Linked DNA regions of Homo sapiens: region 2 is linked to region 1. Evidence: promoter capture Hi-C in human tissues and cell types (Jung and others, 2019). All regions are on one chromosome and are shown on one strand. Each heading gives the region's core, a stretch centred on a gene start or on the middle of the fragment in contact. The rest is flanking DNA. Distances are from core to core; before and after follow the strand shown. Region 1 holds the start of CNPPD1 (cyclin Pas1/PHO80 domain containing 1). Region 2 overlaps PNKD (PNKD metallo-beta-lactamase domain containing).

Region 1 (6,316 bases), core at 766-3,265:
CAGAGGAACCAGAAGTGGTGGAGCAGAGCTCATAGCAGGCTCTTGGCTCTTTAGGGAGATGGGGAGGGGGTGTCTTACCATGGAGATCAGGAACAAGTCAGAGGATGACACATGCTGCAAGTAGTCTGGGTTTCGGTGCCGGAGCCGTTCAATGTACACCAGAGCCAGCATCATAGCACATGGGGAGATGCATGCCTCCCTGGGTGGTAGAAAGGATCACTAATTAAACCCAAGGGTCCTTCAGCTCTTGCAAGTCTTATGATGCTCGTTCCTGTCTTTACCTCTTATCTTTGGAAAAAAACTATTCCTGGCTGGGCACGGTGGCTCATGTCTGTAATCCCAGCACTTTGGAAGACCAAGGTGGGTGGACTGACACCAGGAGTTTGACACCAGCCTGGCCAACATGGTGAAACCCCGTCTTTACTAAAAATACAAAAATTAGCCAGGGGCGGTGGTGTGTGCCTGTAGTCCCAGCTACTGGGGAGGCTGAGGCACAAGAATCACTGGAACCCAGGAGGCGGAGGTTGCGGTGAGCCGAGATTGTGCCACTGCACTCCAGCCTGGGTGACAAAGTGAGACTGTCTCAAAAAAAAAAAAAAGAAAGAAAGAAAAGAAAGAAAAGACGATTCCCCTTTCTCTAGGGCCCAAACACTCTCATCCTATCCTCATTTCCAGGCTCACCGGGACACATGAGCTACATATTTCTTCTGGAGTCGGCGAATAGGGCTGGGGGCTGCCTTCTGGAGCAGTTCGACAGCAATGTCTGCAAGGGACAGAAGGAAGGCCGAGTGAGCAAACAAGCACCCACACCCAACACACCAGTCCCCACTGCTAGCAGAAGACCCAGATCTGTATTTTCTGAGGCCTTGGGGACAGGACCATAGTAACAAAATAGAGATCAAATTCTCACACACTGAGACAAAAAGCCCATTCCAAGTTCGAATTTCAGCTCATTCTAACAGGAAAGCTTATTGCCCTGTCACATCAAACTATCCAGATTTATCTGTCACTGCTGTTCATCTGTGGCATAAACATGCCTTGTTTACTTGGGGAACATATGATGGATATCCTTCGAAAATTAGCTTTTCAATATATAAATCAAGAGTGATTTGTATAGATATATGTGGCAGCAATGTTTTTTATTCATTTGGGCTAAAAGAATGGGAAATGCAAACTGCCCTCTTGAACCAAGTACCAACGAGCTAGCAATGAAGAGACAGTGTAGCCACGGGGCAAACCTCGAGCCATTTTCTGCCTGATGACAATCCCATTTTCATGCTTCTCACTTGTCCAGTCACACAACACTGCCTAACCTGCCACCGGGCTGGAGAGCTCCTCCAGGCTACAGTCGGCTTCCCAGTCCCAGCCATAGTAGAGCCTCCTTCGGATCCGGGCACTCAGCTTCTGGTGTCCTGGGAGGAACTGAAACAGGGCAGGGGCAGCGGAGGGTGAAGGGCACGGAAAGGTATGATGCAGATCCTGGCTCTGGGCTGGAAGGCGGGGCAGGGGACAGGCCGGCCTCGCTGCTAGGGGGCCCGTGCCTTACCCAGACCCGCGTTCTGTAAATCGCTTGCCAATGGCAGCCTGGTCCATAGAGGGAGGAATGCCCCCACCCCCATCGAGGGTTCCCCGGGAGAAGTTCTCCGAGAAGGGCCCTCGTGTGGCCACCCCTACGCCCATTCCTATACTCCGCGGCTCTCCCTCCCGGCCCAAGCAGCCGCGGCCTCAAGGAAGCACTGCTCGAGCAGCTGCCGCCCAGTCCCGGCACAGCAGTCAGGCGAGCTCGCAGCGCCGCTCAGGCCGGGAGGGGCGCGCCGGGAGGCCGGGGAGGGGGCGGGACCCCCACTCACCGTGAAGTCCTGGAAGCCGGCGAGGGAGAAGGTGCCTTCTTCGTCCAGCAGGAGCCCGGTCAGGTCCATCGCGCCGCCAGTCGCCGCCCTGCGAAGGTGAACGGAAGGAAACGAGTTGTAGGGGGCTCGCGGAGCTGTCCTTGCCCGCCTGTCCACCTGCCAGCCTGCCTCCCCGGGGCGGGCCGCCGTCCTCGCCCTCGCCCTCGCAGCTCCCTCCCCCCGGCGGCGGAAGGCGGGGCCCGGGCTGAACTGGGCGCCTCTTCCTGTTCCGCCCCGGGCTTGGCGCGGCGCGCGGGGGCCCTAGGCCCGGGAAGGGAGGTGTCAAGCGTCCGTGCGACGCTCACCTCGCGGAGCAGAAAGGAGATGCGGCTGCGAGGCGCGTACTCCGCCTGTGCCGCGTCCGCCCGGCGTTTACAAGCCGCGGGGGTGCCGCCTGCAAGTCAGCGCCTGGCACTTCCTGCCGCCCATCTGGCCCAGCCTCCCGCCCCGACCCGCGGGCAGGAACCGGACTCGAACTCCTGGTCTCACGGAACGTGGCCAAGCCCCAGGCGCCTCTGAGAAATGGGGACAATTCGTAGGGGGGACCACGCCGCACTGAGGATGAACAAGCCAGGCGTAGCAATGGAGAAGTTAATGTGAATAAGACGAAACGCACAACAGGAAGTTGTTCCCAGTTGCTTTTTAGGAGAGATATTATACATACTCAGCAATGCATATGAAAAGCGTCTGAAAGGACACACAGGAAATTTAGCAGTGGGTGAACTATGAAAAGGAAGAGAAACTCAGGGTGTTTTTTTTTTTTACTGTAATTTGAACTTTTAAACCTAAGGCTACTGAGGAAATTCTGTGATCTTAAGCGAATGTAAGGCCTCAAAACGTGTCAACACGTCCACCCAAAAGTAAACTGCATCTACCCAAGGTTTTGTGTTGAAACCCACCTCCCGCCTCCGATCTCATGCTTGAGTAGGCCGAGGTGGGAAGAAGCTCCGATATGTGGAAGTGGGAAAGTTTAAGGAGATAGGAAAGAAACAACTTTTCTGAGTAGATGTTGTTTTCGAGTCTGTCGAGTCAAGCGCTGGTGTGTGTTTGTTTACCCACTGAGGGGAGGGAACTGGGAGGACCAGTGCGTTGAGGGTTGGTTGAGTAATGGGACGGCCACCGCCCTTCCCGAGCGAGCAGAAGCAGACCCTACCGGGGATACTGGGAATCTGGAAGCCCACTTCCTGCCCCACACGGGGATACCGGGGCAGCACCACACTCCCTAGCCGCCCTGCCTACTGTGGGATAAGAAAACGGGCTCGACTGCCTGGACCTAGACCCGGACTCGGAACCCGGGGTACTTCGTCAACCAGAAAACGAACCTGTGTAGGCGCAGTGTCAGCGGCAGCCGCCGGGGCGCATGCGCGGCCCGCCCTATCCGGGGGGGGGGGGGTTAGGCCGCGTCACGTGACGGGCTCAGCGCTCCGCAGTCACGTGACGCTCGTCCGCAACCTCTGCTGTCCTCCGCGGCGCCCCCTTCCGCCTGACGCGCCCCCGGCGGCGGCCGCGCAGCCCTGGCTCCTCGCGGGCTCGGGCGGCGGCTGCGGCGGGGCTATGGCGAGCGGCGGTGGCGGGGGTAACACTGGCGCGGGTGGGGGGCCGGGGATGGGCCTGAGCCTGGGCCTGGGTCTGGGTCTGAGCCTAGGCATGAGTGAGGCCACCAGTGAGGCAGAGGAGGAGGCGGCCACGGCCGAGGCGGTGGGACGCCTGGCCACGACGCTGTGGCTGCGGCTCCGCGGCTGGGAGGCGGTGCTGGCGGCGGCGCAGCGGTTGCTGGTGTGGGAGAAGCCGCTGCACAGCCTGGTCACGGCGGCCGCGCTCAACGGCCTCTTCTGGTAACGGCCGCGGAGGAGGGGGCGGGGCCGGGATGAGCGGGGGAGGGAGGGGTCGAGAGCACCATTCCCCTTTCTGGGTTATCACTTGGCCTGGGGGCATGACCCATCCCCAGTTTTTGCAGGCTGACATCCGCTTGAATTGCCCATTTTTTTCTATCTCTGAGTCGTGAGTCGCGAGTTAGGCCTGGAGGTGCCATTACCCCATCAGTAGGCGCCTTTCCACCTTCTGAGATGGATGCATGAGCCTGTCTCACCCACTCACTGCTGAGGTGCCTGTCTCTCCCTAAGGTTGCTGTCTTCCTCGTCCCTCCGGCCCTTCTTCCTACTCAGCGTCTCACTTTTGGCCTATTTTCTGCTGGATCTCTGGCAGCCTCGCTTTCTCCCTGACGTTTCAGGTGAGTGTTTCTTCATTCAGTAAGCACCCATTGGGTACTTGCTTGGTGCCTGATTCCGCTGGGTGGGGTTAAGTGGCGAGGGGAACGTACAGCAGGCCACCTGCCTCCCAGGCATGGCCCACTTCCTTTTTGTACGGAATTCCCTAAAATGAGAATTGCCCCTTTCCCAAACTAATACTACTGTAGGTGCAGTGGTTAAGATGGTGAAGTCTGCAGCCATATTACCTGGGTTCCATTCTCTGTTCTGCCATTTACCATTGCTGTGACCTTGTAAAAGTAGCTCAATTTCTGTTTGTCTCAATTTCCTTATCTGTAAAACACAGATGATAGAACTTACTTCATAGAGAGGTGAGGAGAGGATTAATGAGTTAATACACATGCTATACTTATGATAGTGTTTCACATATAAGCCTTATAAATAGAACGTCAGTGTTGTTTTTCTTGTTATCCATATAATTTACTTAGTAGGTGACAGGCTGTATGTGAGTTGCTTGGGAGATAAGCATGAGTAAAATCTAGTTCTTATGTTGGAGAAGGGTAATGTCTAAAGGAGACAGACGCAAACAAAAACATGTAACAGCTCCCCCATTGGCATCTGAAGAAGGTGCTCTGGGGCTGCAGAGGAGGGACAACTATTTCTGCCTTGGGGAGTGTCTCCCAGGGCCCCTACCACTCAATAATTTGCCCCCCTCCTCTCTCTCTAGCATCATCCCCAGAGGAGCCACACTCTGACAGGTGAGTACAGGCCACCTCTTGAAGACAAATGCCCACATCCTGTCCTGCTTGCTGGTGCCAGTGTCACCATGGAGCAGGGCAGTGCCCCAGCATTGTGAATGAACTGGTAACAAGCCATGGGTTTTTCATGGTCCTAGGCTCCTGTGTAGGTGTTTGCGTGCCTGCTCCTTTTGGGGCAGAGGGTTGGGTCCTCCTGGCTTTGCTTCTAAGACCAGGACAGCCTCCTTTTGAGAGGTGGGGTCATTTGCTTTTTTAGACTAAAGATATCTTTGGCATTCTCAGAGGGATTTAAGTGTCTAGGAAGCTGGTATCTGAGGCCTCCAGGGGTCATGTCATGTCTCCCCAGTGAGGGTGCGGGGTCAGGCGCCCGGCCGCACCTGCTGAGTGTGCCCGAGTTGTGCAGATACCTGGCTGAGAGCTGGCTCACCTTCCAGATTCACCTGCAGGAGCTGCTGCAGTACAAGAGGCAGAATCCAGCTCAGGTAACCTCCCCTACATCATACAACAGTTCACTACACTGAAGGGGAATAGAGGTGGCGGGGGATGGGAGTGGAGTGATATAAACTCCCCGCTTGGAGACCCTGAAAGAAGAGGCCTGGGCGCCTTCTTGAGGCAACATTCACAGCTAATCCCTGGTGCAGGAGGCAGTCTCACCTCAGGAAATAAGCTTTTGATAGCCTGACACTTTCTCCTGCCAAGGCAGACCAGTGTGAATTACAGGTGGTGGGCATTATGTATTGCCAGCTTCCTGAATTGGTGGTCTTGAGCATCCTCTTAACCAAACTGGACCACCCCATTCCTTGAGTACATACCCATCCTTCTACCAGCTGAGCAGTAGTTTCTTACCCAGCCGAGCGGGGCGCATATCTCAGCGTGATGTTCTTAGACTTTTGCTCTTCTCTGCAGTTCTGCGTTCGAGTCTGCTCTGGCTGTGCTGTGTTGGCTGTGTTGGGACACTATGTTCCAGGGATTATGATTTCCTACATTGTCTGTGAGTAGGGTCTGTCCCTGCCCTATTTAAAGCCCTCTCCTTTCTTCTTTCCTTGGACTGACCCAGAGGGAAGACTATGCTCTCTCTGCTCAGTTTCTGATTTGTGGAGATCTCCAGGGATGCTTTAGTATTAGTAACTGTGGAAGACTTACCTGGGGAGGAGGGCAGTGGATGTGGCAAGAAGAGGTTGGCACAGCCTTGGGAAAGGACCTTGCCTACCTTCAGCACTTCAGTTTAGGGACCAGTTGAATGGGGGCTCTTAGGAAATTGGCGTAGGGAGCTCTTAGTTCACGTTCTTAACCCATAGTGTTGAGTATCCTGCTGTGGCCCCTGGTGGTTTATCATGAGCTGATCCAGAGGATGTACACTCGCCTGGAGCCCCTGCTCATGCAGCTGGACTACAGCATGAAGGCAGAAGCCAATGCCCTGCATCACAAACACGACAAGAGGAGTAAGGGGCTGCCCTAAGCC
Region 2 (6,216 bases), core at 1,763-4,262, 870 kb before region 1:
TGTGAAGGTGTGGAGACACCCCTGAAGCTGAAAGAGCTTGGCATGTTCCAGAAACTTCCAGGAGAGTGGTGTGGCTGGAGAGTGGTGGGCACTGGGGCATGGCCCAAGAGGAGACTGGGGAGGTGGCAGGGGCCAGGTCTACAGAGTCTCAGGGCCTCTTTAAGGACTTCAAATTTCAGCCTAAAGATATCAATGAAAACATTCAAACTCTGTAAAATATTTGAAGAAATTTATTCTGAACCAAATATGAGCGACTATGGCCCTTGACACAGCCCTCAGGAGACCCTGAGAACACGTGGCCCAAGGTAGTCAGGGCGGGGGGACAGGGGCGCAGAATGTATGTGTGTGTTGAAGGGAGCTTCCAGGTTATAGGTAGATTTAAAAATTTTCTGATTGGCAATTGATTAAAAGAGTTACCTAAAGGCCTGGAGGTTTTTTTTCTGTTTGTTCGTTTGTTTGTTTGTTTGTTTTATGGAGTCTCACTCTGTTCCCCAGGCTGGAGTGCAGTTGTGCCATCTTAGCTCACTGCAACTTCTGCCTGCCAGGTTCAAGTGATTCTTCTGCCTCAGCCTCCCAAGTAGCTGGGATTACAGGTGCCCACCACCATGCCCAGCTAATTTGTTTGTATTTTTAGTAGAGACAGGTTTTCACCATGTTGGCCAGGATGGTCTTGAACTCCTGGCCTCAGTGATCTGCCCACCTTGGCCTCCCAAAAGTGTAATCCTTGGGATTACAGGTGTGAGCCACCAGCCCAGCCCTGAACCAGTCTTTCAGGTTAACTTTGGAATGCCCTGGCAGAGGAGGGAGTCCATTCAGATGGCTGAGGTGAGGGGGCATTGAATTTTATTTTTGGTTTACAAAGGAAGCCATTGAGTGATTTTGAGCAGGGCTGGGACATGGGACATGATCTGGGTGGTATTTTAGGAGAATCACCCTGGCTCTGAGCGGTGAATGGGTTGAGGGAATGGAGCCCGAGAGCAGGAAGGCCTTGAGGAGCCACCTTGGCTACAAGATGAAAGGTGGTGGCACCAGCCCCCACCCTGAGGTGTCAATACCCCACGACCCCCATCCCAGACCTGCACTTCTTTTTTTTTTTTTTTTTTTTTGAGCAGAGTCTTGCTCTGTTGCCCAGGCTGGAATGCAGTGGCATGATCTCGGCTCACTGCAACCTCTGCCTCCTGGGTTCAAGCGATTCTCTGCCTCAGCCTCCTGAGTAGCTGGGATTACAGGTGCCCACCACCATGCCCAGCTAATTTTTGTATTTTTAGTAGAGATGGGGTTTCACCATCTTGGCCAGGCTAGTCTTGAACTCCTGACCTCATGATCCACCTGCCTCAGCCTCCCAAAGTGCTGGGATTACAGGTGTGAGCCACCACGCCCGGCCAGACCCGCACTTCTTTGGTTTCATTTGGCTGGTTTCCGTTTGCTCTCCACATCCCCCTCCGTCTTCTCCACCCTGCTTGGAGCTGGTCCTATGGACACCTCAGTGGGCTCTTGGTCCTCCAGCTGCAGCTGAGTTTGGCAGTGGAGCTCTCCAGGAGGAGATGGCAGCAGAGGTGGAGGGTTTGTCTCCTTCTCCCTCCCTCAAGGCTCACCCCAGACTGGCTTATCCCTCAACCAGTGGTCACAGCCCCTATCAGTTGGGCCTGTCCACACAGCTCTGTCTTTGTTTTTTGTTTTTGAGACAGAGTTTCGCTCTTGTTGCCCAGGCTGGAGTGCAGTGGCGTGGTCTCAGCTCACTGCAACCTCCCAGTTCAAGCGATTCTCCTGCCTCAGCCTCCCAAGTAGCTGGGATTACAGATGCCTGCCACCATGCCTGATTTTTTGTATTTTTAGTAGAGACAGGGTTTCACCATGTTGACCAGGCTGGTCTGGAACTCCTAACCTCAGGTCATCCACCCGCCTCGGCCTCCCAAAGTGCTGGGATTACAGGCATGAGCCACCGCACCCAACCTGTCTTTATGTTTTATAACAGCTCCCTTCCTGACCCTTCAGGCCCAGGGGTGGCGACAGTGTCACTAGCCTGGAGAACTGTTTCCAGCACCTGCCGGTAGCCTTGCAGAGCACTAAAACTTAACTTCTCTCAAGCTCTCCTCAGCTTTCCCAGTTTGCCTGTGTCATCTGTTTCCCAGCAGACACTGACACATGTTTTCTACCCAGGCTGGTTACAGAGGATCAGTGGAAAGAGCATGGAATTGGGGGTCAAATAAAACCATAATTGAATTTGGGTTTTGTCGCCTGTGATGGTATGAGTCATTATTCTCTCCAAGCCTTCGTTTGTTCATCTCTAAAGTGGGGCGACTGGCCGGGCACAGTGGCTCATGCCTGTAATCCCAGCACTTTGGGAGGCTGAGGTGGGTGGATCACTTGAGGTCAGGAGTTCGAGACCAGCCTGGCCAACATGGTGAAACCCCATCTTGGTGAAACACAAAAATTAGCCAGGCGTGGTGGCGGGCACCTGTAGTCCCAGCTACTCGGGAGGCTAAGGCAGGAGAATCACTTGAACCTGGGAGGTAGAGGTTGCAGTGAGCTGAGATCGCGCCACTGCACTCCAGCCTGGGTGACAGAGCAAGACTCCATCTCAAAAATAAATAAATAAATAAAGTGGGGCGACCATCACCTTCCTTATAGAGTCGTGACAATGAAATCCCACGTGCAAGGGCTGTGCGCAGGCCTTGTGCTCAGTAGACAGTCTACACTCGGTTGTTCTGTTCTTCCTTCCCACACAACAGAACAAACATTTATCACACTGCATGCATCAAGCCCAGTGCAAGGTGCTGGGGATGAGGGAGAGACAAACAAGTGGAGGCCGCCATTTTTTGCCTACAGGGAGAGCTCAGTCTTGTTTTTGCCTGTTAGTTTGTATGTTTGTTTGTTTCTGAGACAGGGTCTTACTCTGTCACTCAGGCTGGAGTGCAGTGGCAAAATCATAGTTCACTGCAGCATCAACCTCTGACCTCAAGCAATCGTCTTGCCTCAGCCACTCAAGTAACTGGGACCACAGGTGCATGCCATGTCTGGCTATTTTTTTTTTTAATTTTTTGTAGAGGTGGGGTCTCACTGTGTTGCCCAGGCTGGTCTTGAATTTCTAGACAATTTTCCGATCCATCATCCCGCCTTGGCCTTCCAAAGTGCTGGGATTACATGCATGAGCCACCACCCCCAGCCCAGAGGTCAGAGTCTTGTAAAGAAAAGGCTATGGCTCCTCTGGGTGTGCCCCCTTCCGCCCCCACCATAGCCAAACCATTCGTTTCTGTTTGGCTGTGAGATGACATTTTTTCCAGGGTCTGGAGTTAGAGTAGTGACCAGGCAGTGCAAATAATTGTGGTAATCAGAAAAGCCTTCGAAGAGGAGGTTGAATTTATTTTTAGCCTTAAAGAAACTGGACTAAAAGGAAAGGCATTATCAGCCTCCTTGAGAACTGAACTCATTCTCCTCCCTCCTCTGTTGAGAGCTGCCAGACTCCCTAGATTGAGAATTGGACCTTCATTAGTTATGGTTACTCCTGGAAGGGTATCACATCCCCGGGGGCATGGTAGGGCTGGAAGGTACCTGGTATCTTGAGGAAGCTGCCTAAAAGGATTTCTCCAGGTGGCATGGGGCAGAAATCTAGGATAGTGATCAGGGCAGGCTGGCAGACGGGACACATGTGGAGGGGAGCAGCAGGAACGCCACACACTAGAGAACTGGGCTGAGACCATGTCGCTAAAACAAGGGATGCAAATTTGATTGTGTAGACACTGGCTTTGAGCAGGGGGAGCCCCTGCTTGAAACTGATGGCTAGGGGCTGCAGGTGCCTGCAATGGGCCAGGCATGAGGACCCAAGGGCCTGATTTGGGATGATGCAATGGGAAATGGAGGCAAAGGTCACACCCTCTTATCATTTCAGTCATAAAATATTTACTTGAGCACCCACCAGGACAGATGCTGATGTTGCAAGAATGAGATCAATAATATCAAGGAACATGTGTGGAGTACTTGAAACGGCCCAGGCAAGGTGTCCTTTCTCTGGGTAATCACGGTTAATCCTCCGAGTAGCTCCATGCAAATTACCAGTCCCTCGTGGAGAGAAAGAGAATGAGGTTTGAGTAGATTAAGAACATTGCCCCAAGGTGCAGAGTTCCTAGTGGAGCCAGGGTTCTAAGCTGGTCATTCCAAGTCTAGCACACAACCCCCAAACCCGATTCCACTCCCTCCCCGACAGTTCACCCTCCTTACCCACAAGGCACTTGAAGTGTTATGGGGCAGCGCCAGGAATTACTGCACAGCCTAAGGACCATCACAGAGACATGTGTGCAATGAAGTGTGCAAGTCATTACCTAGGCCTAAGAGATGCCCTCACCCAGGAGCTAGGTGTCGGGATTGGTTTGTTTGGTCATCTGACAAACACAGATGCTTCCTAACTTATAGAGTGGTTACATCCCAATAAACTCATCCTAAATTGAAAATATCCTAAGTGGAAAATGCATTAAATACACCTAAACCTACCAAACATCATAGCCTAGCCTAGCCTGCCTTAAACATGCACAAAACAATGACATTCGTTTACAGTTGGGCAAAATCATCTGGAAACACAGATGATGCCGTTGGCCAAGTTGGCAGACCTGAAGGAGAGGGTTGGGGTCACATGAGGATGAGGAGGTAGCTTTGGACAAATCAAGTTAAAGATCCCGTGTGGCAGCAGTCCCCAGCATTTTTGGCACCAGGGACCAGTTTCATGGAAGGCAGTTTTTCCAGGGACTGGGGGAGGCAATGGGGTTAGGGGGGTTCGGGATGATTCAAGCGCATTACATTTATTGTGCACTAGATTTCTATTATTATTACATTGTAATATATAATAAAATAATCATACAACTCACCATAAGGTACAATCAATGGGAACCCTGAGCTTGTTTTCCAGCAGCTGGATGGTCCCATCTGGGATTGATGGGAGACAGTGACAGATCATCAGGCATTAGATTCTCATAAGGAGCATGTAACCTACATCCCTCACATGCGCAGTTCACAATAGGGTGCGAGCTCCTATGAGAATCTAATGCTGCTGCTGATCTGACAGGAGGTGGAGCTCAGAGGGTAATGCAAGCAATGTGGAGCAGCTGTAAATACAGGTAAAGCTTTGCCTGTCCTGCTGTGTGGCCTGGCTCCTAACAGACCAAGGACCAGTATAGGGTTGGAGGGAAGCGGTTGGGGACCCCTACCGTGGGGCATCCAAGGGAGGCTCTTGTGGACATTTCTCCTTTGAAGTAATGAGTATACAGGTGGTAGCCTGTAAGTGGTGAATTTAGAGCTAGCAGAAGGGGAGCTTGTCAGAGAGGGGAGAGGAGAGCCAGAGAGACTGTGGCAGGGAAGGCAGAGGAAAAAGGCATGCTCCATTGTCATAGCTGCCACCCAGAGGTTCAGTGATAAGGGCTGAACAATGACAAATGGGTTTGACCTTCAAGGGGACAGCGCCAAATTAGGATGGAGCAGTACAGGCAGGGGCCCAGTTGAGTGGCCTGAGAATGGACGTGAAGTGAAAGGTAGAGACAGCAGAGAGGACTACTTTCTTTGTTTTAATAAAATAATAATTTTAAAAATTAAAATACTAATATGTTTTCATTATAGAAGATCAGAAAATATTTTAAAAGCACAAAAAAATAATAAACAAATGGTACCCCATGAGTCAATCAACCAAAGATTATGACTGGAAGCATTTTAGATTTTTTTTTTTTTTTTTTGAGACAGAGTCTCACTGCACATCACTCAGATGTGCAGTGGTGCCATCTCGGCTCACTGTAACCTCTGCCTCTCAGATTCAAGTGGTTTTCCTGCCTCAGCCTCCTGAGTAGCTGGGATGATTCAGGCACCCGCCACTACACCCAACTAATTTTTGTATTTTTAGTAGAGACGGGGTTTCACCATATTGGCCAGGCTGTTCTCAAACTCCTAAGCTTGTGATCTGCCCGCCTCAGCCTCCCAAAGTGCTGGGATTACAGGCACGAGCCACCGTGCCCAGCCTTAGATTTTTTTTAATCCATTTTTGTTTACAGAGGTACAATCGTATCAGTTATTCAAAATTTACCCAGTTTTGTGTCCTATTTTTTTCTCCACTACTTTCTTTCTTTCTTTTTTTTTTTTAGACGAGTATTGCTCTATCACCCAGGCTGGAGTGCAATAGCATAATCTCGGCTCACCGCAACCTCCACCTCCCGGGTTCAAGCGATTCTCCTGCCTCAG

The links. Contacts are between HindIII fragments. The study calls those that stand out against the background at their distance.
Region 2: a fragment that was not itself captured here is called in contact with the fragment with the promoter of CNPPD1 in region 1 in 1 of the 25 tissues and cell types used here (heart right ventricle).

The regions. Positions count from the first base shown.
Region 1 is chr2:219,174,910-219,181,225 of GRCh38, forward strand. CNPPD1 (cyclin Pas1/PHO80 domain containing 1) reads right to left here and starts at 2,016. Exons shown (of 8, transcript NM_015680.6): 1 at 1,851-2,016; 2 at 1,314-1,422; 3 at 682-763; 4 at 79-199. The coding sequence starts at 1,919. RETREG2 (reticulophagy regulator family member 2) reads left to right here and starts at 3,366. Exons shown (of 9, transcript NM_024293.6): 1 at 3,366-3,724; 2 at 4,013-4,119; 3 at 4,824-4,854; 4 at 5,201-5,336; 5 at 5,761-5,845; 6 at 6,153-6,296. The coding sequence starts at 3,444. RefSeq lists silencers at 1,638-1,932, 1,771-1,830, 1,951-2,160, 2,231-2,280, 3,271-3,350 and 2 more and an enhancer at 3,061-3,561. The HindIII fragment of the contact is 7,594 bases long and covers 1-6,316 here.
Region 2 is chr2:218,302,490-218,308,705 of GRCh38, forward strand. The region is part of intron 2 of PNKD (PNKD metallo-beta-lactamase domain containing); the gene reads left to right. LOC105373881 (a long non-coding RNA gene) reads right to left here. Exons shown (of 3, transcript XR_923914.3): 3 at 3,881-4,059. Among named protein-coding and RNA genes, the nearest start is that of TMBIM1, 13 kb to the left of the region's middle. The HindIII fragment of the contact is 5,019 bases long and covers 504-5,522 here.